Regions from separate parts of the Homo sapiens genome. Here regions 1 and 3 are each linked to region 2. The links are contacts of gene promoters, found by promoter capture Hi-C in blood cells and fetal thymus (Javierre and others, 2016). All regions are on one chromosome and are shown on one strand. The core of a region is centred on a gene start or on the middle of the fragment in contact, and the rest is flanking DNA. Distances in the headings are between cores, read along the strand shown. Region 1 overlaps PDE11A (phosphodiesterase 11A). Region 2 holds the start of NFE2L2 (NFE2 like bZIP transcription factor 2). Region 3 overlaps MTX2 (metaxin 2).

Region 1 (2,700 bases), core at 35-2,534, 520 kb before region 2:
AGATTAATGGTCAGTGAAATGCCCCATTGGTGGCAGGGGCAAAATCTATTTTGAGAATGGTGGAGCTGATACTTCATGAGAGGGTGCTTGTTTGTTTGTTTGTTTGTTTGTTTGTTTTGATGCAACTTCATAATTTGTCTTTTCAGAAAGCAAGTGGAGAGGGGAGAGATAGAGAAAGAAGGAAGGGAAGGATGGAGGAAGGAAAGAAAGAAAAGAAAGGGAGAGAAAGAGAAGAAAAAGGAGGGAGAAAGAGAAAGGAAGGAAGTAGGGAAGAAGGGAAGAGGGAAGGAAGGAAGCAAAAAAGAAAGAACCTTCTTCACATTATACTAAATTTATGAATTCTTGATGTGAGTGGATTTTTTTGGTGTGGAAATTGAGGAGGGAGCTGAATTTCACATTTAGTGTGATGATTATATAACAGATACAGCACAAGAATACATAAGAACTCAAAGGCCAAGATGAGAATATAAACCTGCCAAGAATATGTAGACATTTTGAAAAAGGCTTTGAATTTCCATAGTATTTCATGAGTTTAGGGGTTCACGTTGATCTTACCTAGATTTTGAAAGACAAGGAAGCTTCAGTTGACACCTGATTACAGAAATCTTTGGATGGCATAGGGTGGCAAGTCCCAGTTGAATGTTGATAATGTTTTGTTTATTTATTGCTTTTTAACCACTTTTTGGCAACTTAATGGTTTAAACACAAACCCCACATAGAGTCAAAGGGAAGGGACATAGACCCCACCTCTCATAGAAATAGTGTCAAAGAATGTGTGGTCATCTTAATTCACCAGATAATAATTTGGATGTAGTTGCAAAGTACCTGTTAAATTTCAAGATTTATATAATACAAGATATGTTATCCTCTGGCAAGGGCACAGGTACCAATATTTAGAGGGAAAGATAGTTTGGGAAACTGCCAAATGAATGTCAGTGTTGTCATTATGTACTAGCTAATGAATAGTATTTAGCCTTATGAATGCATCTTAATGGCTTGCATTTAAAAATTAGATTGAGATTTAAAGTGTGGTTACTAAAATTAACATTTTAATCTGGGTAATGACATAGAATGATTACATTAAACCTTTGATTTGGGTGAAAAAATGGTGAATGAATTTCTCATCCCAAGTTGAGGGCCCACTCAAACCACTGGAGAGTTGGCTTCATACCTTTGGATAAAACAAAAGCAAAAACGGCATATCTCTTTGGTCAAGAAGTTTAATTAAAAGAGAATTCAGCTGGACATGGTGGCTCACACTTGTAATCCCAGCACTTTGGGAGGCAGAGGCGGGCAGATCACCTGAGGTCAGAAGTTCAAGACCAGCCTGGCCAACATGGCGAAACCCCTTCTCTACTAAAACTACAAAAATCAGCTGGGTGTGGTGGCACGCACCTGTAGTCCCAGCTACTTGGAGGCTGAGTCAGGAGAATCTCTTGAACCCAGCAGATGGAGGCTGCAGTGAACTGAGATCAAGCCACTACACTCCAGCCTGGGGAACAGAGTGACAGACAGAGTCTCAAAAAAAAAAAAAAGAAAAGAAAAAGAAATTGAGAATTCAGCCAAGATGGGCAAGGTCTCAAATTGACCGCAAACTCTATTGGCACCATTTTTGCAGCAGTGTGTGTTTACTTTGTGTTTTTGTGTCACATTTTGGTAATTCTTACAACATTTTATACGTCTTATTATATCTGTTACAATTATCTGTGATCAGTGATTTTTAATGTTACTATTGTAATCCTTTGGGGCACTATGAACTGTGCCCATATAAGGCGGTAAACTTAATTGATAAATGTTTTGTGTTCTGACTGCTCTGCTGACCAGCTCTTCCCCATCTCTCTCCCTTTCCTTGGGCCTCTCTGTTTTCCAAGACACATCAATATGGAAATTAGGCCAAGTAATAACCCTACAATGACCTCTAAGTGTTCCAGTGAAAGGAAGAGTTGCACATCTATCACTTTTAATCATAAGCTAGGCATGATTAAGCTTAGTGAGAAAGGCATGTCAAAAGGTGAGATAGGCTGAAAGCTAGGCCTCTTATGCCAAACAACCAAGTTGTAAATGCAAAGGAAAAGTTTTTGAAGGAAATTAAAAATGCTGTTCCAGTGAACATATGAATAATAAGAAAGTGAAACAGCCTTTTTGCTGATATGGAGAAAGTTTTAGTGGTCTGAAGAAAAGATCAAATGAGCCACAACATTCTCTTAAGCCAAAGCCTAATCCAGATCAAGGCCCTAATTCTCTTCAAATCTATGAAGACTGAGAGAGGTGAGGAAGTTGCAGAAGAAAAGTTTGAAGCTAGCAGAGATTCATGAACTTTAAGGGAAGAAGCCATCTCCAAAACATAAAAGTGTGAGATGAAGCAGCAAGTGCTGATGTAGAAGCTGTAGCAAGTTATCCAGAACATCTAGCTAAGATCATTGATAAAGGTTGTTACAGTAGACAACAGATTTTCAATGCAGACAAAACAGCTTTCTACTGGAAGAAGATGCCATCTAGGAATTTCATAACTAGAGAGGAGAAGTCAATGTCTTCAAAGCACAGGCTGACTCTCTTGTTAGGGGCTATGGTAAGTTGCTGGTGATTTTAAATTGAAGCCAGTGCTTATTTACCATTTTGAAAATCCTCGGGCCCTTAAGAATTATGCTAAATCAAGCCAGAAGTGGTGGTGTACACCTGTAGTCCCAGCTACTTGGGAGG
Region 2 (2,746 bases), core at 226-2,725:
TTGCTTCAATTACAAGTAATTAATTTAGGCTTCACTTATCTCAAGGAATATCTGAATATACAAATTTACACATAAATCCTGGGAGTGTCAAATTATGCAACCTAGAGAAAGTAAGCTCTGCAGCTTTTTGGGCGTTGATTGCTATAGTCAGGGGTGTGTGTGTGGTTTTTGAATGAAATAGCAAAACCACTGCCAGTATTATCTACTTCACCTGGTTTTGAATAATTCCAGGAAGCTAGAAACTGAAAACCAGTCTTGTATAGAGTTAGAAAGATTGTAAATGCAGAAGAGGAAGAAAAAAACAAAACTAAACCATTTATCTATCCTCTTTGAACCCTTATAAGAGTTCACAATATTCCTCGTTTCAAATACTTGAAGTCTTCTCTGGGCAATGATTAATTTTTAAATAATTGTTTTTAATGTAAGACATAAAACATACGCACTGCAGATTTAAAGCATACTTGGAAGTAACAAGGAGAAACATAAAAATCGTTGATTCCACAGCATTTAATATATTGGTAACCTTCAATTTTTTTCTAGGCACGTTTTTATAAAATGAGCCAATACTATACAAACGTTTTTGTAACTTTTTTTAATTTGTACTATTTTGTGAGTACGTGAAAAAGAAATTTGTAAAGAGTAAACGATTACAGCATGTTGTGGTATTACACACTGTTGAAGGGCGCCATCTGTGGCGTGGTGGCTGCGCTTTGGTGGGAAGAGGTTCTCTTGGGGTTCCCGTTTTTCTCCCAGCTCTGGGTGGGCAATACTGACCACTCTCCGACCTAAAGGGGCTTCTCCGTTTGCCTTTGACGACCTGAGCTTAGGAGAATGGAGACACGTGGGAGTTCAGAGGAGGGCGTTCAGGGTGACTGCGAACACGAGCTGCCGGAGCTGTCCACATCTCCCCTAGGCAGGGCCCACTGGCCCCAGCCCGGGAAGGGAGCAAGGGCGGGAGGGCAGTTGGCAGTGGCACGGTCTGGGTCCAAATCTTTAGCCCCCCCCACCCCGGCTGGCGCCATTCTCGGGCGGTAAAGTGAGATAAAAGCAGGGCAAGGTTCTGCAACTCCAAATCAGGGAGGCGCAGCTCCTACACCAACGCCTTTCCGGGGCTCCGGGTGTGTTTGTTCCAACTGTTTAAACTGTTTCAAAGCGTCCGAACTCCAGCGACCTTCGCAAACAACTCTTTATCTCGCGGGCGAGAGCGCTGCCCTTATTTGCGGGGGAGGGCAAACTGAACGCCGGCACCGGGGAGCTAACGGAGACCTCCTCTAGGTCCCCCGCCTGCTGGGACCCCAGCTGGCAGTCCCTTCCCGCCCCCGGACCGCGAGCTTCTTGCGTCAGCCCCGGCGCGGGTGGGGGATTTTCGGAAGCTCAGCCCGCGCGGCCGGCGGGGGAAGGAAGGGCCCGGACTCTTGCCCCGCCCTTGTGGGGCGGGAGGCGGAGCGGGGCAGGGGCCCGCCGGCGTGTAGCCGATTACCGAGTGCCGGGGAGCCCGGAGGAGCCGCCGACGCAGCCGCCACCGCCGCCGCCGCCGCCACCAGAGCCGCCCTGTCCGCGCCGCGCCTCGGCAGCCGGAACAGGGCCGCCGTCGGGGAGCCCCAACACACGGTCCACAGCTCATCATGATGGACTTGGAGCTGCCGCCGCCGGGACTCCCGTCCCAGCAGGTGCTGCCTCGGCCCTCTGGGCCCTGCGGTGGTGCCGGGACGGGGGCGGGGGAGCTAGGGAACCGCGGCCCGGGAGGGACAGCCGCAACCGGCTTCCCCCACGTCTGGCCAGAGCCAGGACCGCGGCGCTGGGTAGAGCCGCCGCGCTTGCGCCGGGGCAGGGCGGGGAGGGGCAGCGGGGACGCGGCCGGGTGATCCGACCGACCACGAGCCCGAGGGCGAACGGGTGGGAAGTTGCGGGAAGGTCTGGGGACTGAGCCCGCTCGCGTGGGCCTTGGGGGAGAATCCAGCCGCGTCCCCGGGCCCGAGAGCTGGGACTCCGGAGCCCCTAAGTTTGAGCGGCCCGGTGGGCGGCGGGGCAAGAGGGGGCGGACGCTGGCCGTCTGAGCCGGCGCGGCCCGGCCCTTCCGGGGCTGCGCGGCTCCCCCGCCTCGGTGCCGGCAAAAATGTGCCTAGTCACGGGGCCGCTCTCGGGGGAACTGAGGTCGCCTTCGGGCTGGGACCCGGAGCCCCTTCGCCGCGCCCCAAGACCTCCTTGAGTGCGGGCTGCGACGCGCTCACCCCGCTGGGCCGTCTGTGGGCGCGGCTTTGCGAAGTCATCCATCTCTCGGATCACTCTCTGGCAGCCTTGAGCTCTCTTGAAAGCCCAGCCCCGGGACGAGGGAGGAGCGCCTTAAGTGCCCAGCGGGCTCAGAAGCCCCGACGTGTGGCGGCTGAGCCGGGCCCCGCGCACTTTCTCGGCCGGGGAGGGGTTCGGGCTCGGGCACCCGGAGTTGGCCCCTCGTAACGCCGCGGGAAAGTGCGGGCGAGGGCAGTGGACTCTGAGGCCGGAGTCGGCGGCACCCGGGGCTTCTAGTTCGGACGCGGTGCCCCCTGGTGGCGCTCACCGCGCGCGTGGCCTTGGCTTCCGTGACAGCGCTCGGTTGGCCGTCACAGCAGCCCTCGGTTGGCCCTTTCCTGCTTTATAGCGTGCAAACCTCGCCGCGCCAGGGCCAAGGGACAGGTTGGAGCTGTTGATCTGTTGCGCAATTGCTATTTTCCCCAGAGCGGCTTTGTCTTTGGATTTAGCGTTTCAG
Region 3 (2,700 bases), core at 136-2,635, 990 kb after region 2:
AAACTGGGGAGTTCAGAGAAGACTTCTAAAAAGATATCCTTATGAATAAGGATCTCAAAGAAGTCACTTCAAGAATACCACAGAGAGATGCCAGATATCTTTAAATGTTTCCAAAAGAAATAATCAGTGTTAGCTCATGTCCACAGGAAGGAAAGGTAATAAGCAAAGTGTTGGATACACTAAAAATTAGAGCTCTCAACTACAAAAACAGATTCATAATTACTTAAGTTATAACAGATCTATATAGATACATAACTCCAACCTGTACTACCAGAAACAGAACACTGTGAATAGTTGCTGGATTTGAGTCACATTTATAAGTCATTTACAAGTCAAACACAGGGTTTCCGATAAATTATTACTTTAACCACTGCTATAGTCTGAATATCCCCTTCACAACTCATGCTGAAATGGAATTACCATTCTGACAGTATTAACAGGTGGGATTGTTAAGAGATGACTAGATCATGAGGGCTCCACCCTCATGAATGGATTCATCTCTTTATCCCAAGAGTAGGTTGTTGTAAAAGCAAGTTCAGCCCTCTCAGTCCCTGGCTCTTGCCCTCCCTGGCCTTTCCACCTTCTGCCACAGGATAATGCAGCACAAAGGCTCGCATCAGATACCGGCACCTTGAAGCTGGAGTTCGTTGCCTCCCAAAATGTGAGACTTGAATTTTTTTTCTTTGTAACTTACCTAGTCTGTGGTATTCTGTTATAGCAACACAAAACAGATTAAGGCAGCCTCCTGTTTTCACTTCTTGGCAAAACATAATCTTATAAATTTTAACAATTACAATCATTTAAATTACAAAAGTAAACTATGCTCACTATAGTAATTCAAACAATTCAGAAATATAGTTCCTCCACCCTCTACCAACAATCTATCTTTATTATCCCAATCGCTAGTTACAATTAGTTGAATATTCTTAACATATATAAACATATGTATGTTTATATAGATTTCATGAGTTCATACAAAATAGATATTATTTTATAACTTTTTACTTAATATAACCATAGCTTTCAAGACAACGTATTTAACAGATATACTTCTTCATTTTTGGATCTGTAAAAATGTGACCATACCATAATTTTTGTATAAATGTTTTTGACAAATAATAACTGTACATTTAGGAGGTACAACGTGATATTTTGAACTAAATAAATCAAAGAATAGAAAGAATAAATCAAGGTAATTAATATATCCATCACCGCACCAACTTAAATTTTTGTAAGAAAATTATAAATCTAAGCCTTTAGCAATTTTGAAATATATAATACATTATTATTAACTGTGGTCACCTTGCAGTGCAATAGATCACTAAAACTTTTTCTTCTAGTCTAACAAACTTTGTTCCCTTTGATCAACATCTCTTCTCCATTCCTCTTCCCCATCTCTCACCTCTGTCCCCCTCAGCCTCTGGTAACCACCTTTCTATTCTGTTTCTAGGAGATCAACTTTCTTAGATTTCCCCAAAAAGATTAGATTTTAGATCACTACTTGTCTTTCTATGTCTAGCTTATTTCATTTAGCATAATGTCCTCCAGATCCATCCATTTTATCACAAATGATAGGGTTTCCTTCTTTTTTAAGGCTGAATAGTATTCCATTGTATCTTATATACATTTTCTTTATCCATTCATCCACTGATAAACACCTGGGTTGCTTCCATATCTTGGCTATTGTGAATACTGCTGCAATGAACATGGGACTGCACATACCTCTTAGACAATTTCAATTCCTTTGGATACATGCCCAGAAGTGGAATTGGTGGATTGGTGTACAATAATTTGACATATATTTAAAACATTTCTAGTTTTTCGCTATTACAAATAATGCTGCAATTAATATCATTGTGTATTTCTTTAAGTACTGGTCTTTACATTTCTATCAGATAAACCCCCATAAGTAGAATTTTCAGGCCAGAGAATGTCATTTTAATAAATATTGCTACATTACGTTCCCAAAAAGTAATACTAACTTACAGACCCAATAGTTTGAGAGTAACTTTTCCCCATGCCCTATTAGTACTAGAAATCATATTCACTTTTGTCCATCTGATGGCAGGGGTGGGAGGATGCTATACATTATTAGGGACAGAGAACATCTTTTCATCTGTTCACTGTCCATCTATATTTCACCCTTTTGTGAAATGCCTGTTCCAATCCTTTGTCCTTGATTCTGTTGGTTTGTCTTCTTATTTGTACTAACTTGAGATGTCTTTTATCAAAGTTTTAAAATTTTTTCGGCAATCAAATCTGCCAATTTCTTCTCTTATGGATTATGAATTCTTAAGTTTTGCTTAGGCCTCTTCTGCTATCCAAGGATTATTAAAATAATCTATGTTTTCCTCTAATTATTTTATTACAATTTTGTTGTTTTATATTTAGATCTTTAATCAATCTGGAATTTATTCATGTGGTGTAATGACTTAGTAGTTGTTCCAACACCATTTATTGAATTATCCATTTTTAAATGCTTCCTCCTAGAGTAACAGATCACTACAAATAGCTAAGACGGCAGACAGACAAAATGCCTAGAAATTTTTAAACGTCACTACTTAAAGCAGTATCCAAAGTTTATTAAAAGACATTCATCATTTTCTCATTAAAAGAAATCACATATTAGGACACATGCACACAGTGAACCACTCAACATACACTGTGAAGTTTTTTTTTTCAACATAGTAGCAAACTAAA

Evidence for each region. Contacts are between HindIII fragments. The CHiCAGO score rates a contact against its expected background, and 5 or more counts as called.
Region 1: a contact is called between a fragment that was not itself captured here and the fragment with the promoter of NFE2L2 in region 2, in 1 of 17 cell types (total CD4 T cells). The highest score is 5.5, in total CD4 T cells.
Region 3: a fragment that was not itself captured here is called in contact with the fragment with the promoter of NFE2L2 in region 2 in 1 of 17 cell types (activated CD4 T cells); the score reaches 5.0 in activated CD4 T cells.

The regions. Positions count from the first base shown.
Region 1 is chr2:177,780,340-177,783,039 of GRCh38, reverse strand. All of the region lies in intron 9 of PDE11A (phosphodiesterase 11A), which reads left to right. Among named protein-coding and RNA genes, the nearest start is that of PDE11A-AS1, 110 kb to the right of the region's middle. The HindIII fragment of the contact is 1,408 bases long and covers 581-1,988 here.
Region 2 is chr2:177,263,456-177,266,201 of GRCh38, reverse strand. NFE2L2 (NFE2 like bZIP transcription factor 2) reads left to right here and starts at 1,475. Exons shown (of 5, transcript NM_006164.5): 1 at 1,475-1,670. The coding sequence starts at 1,626. RefSeq lists silencers at 1,332-2,201, 2,462-2,621 and an enhancer at 2,302-2,746. The HindIII fragment of the contact is 5,708 bases long and covers 2-2,746 here.
Region 3 is chr2:176,270,957-176,273,656 of GRCh38, reverse strand. All of the region lies in intron 1 of MTX2 (metaxin 2), which reads right to left. Among named protein-coding and RNA genes, the nearest start is that of MTX2, 2.9 kb to the right of the region's middle. The HindIII fragment of the contact is 2,998 bases long and covers 1-2,700 here.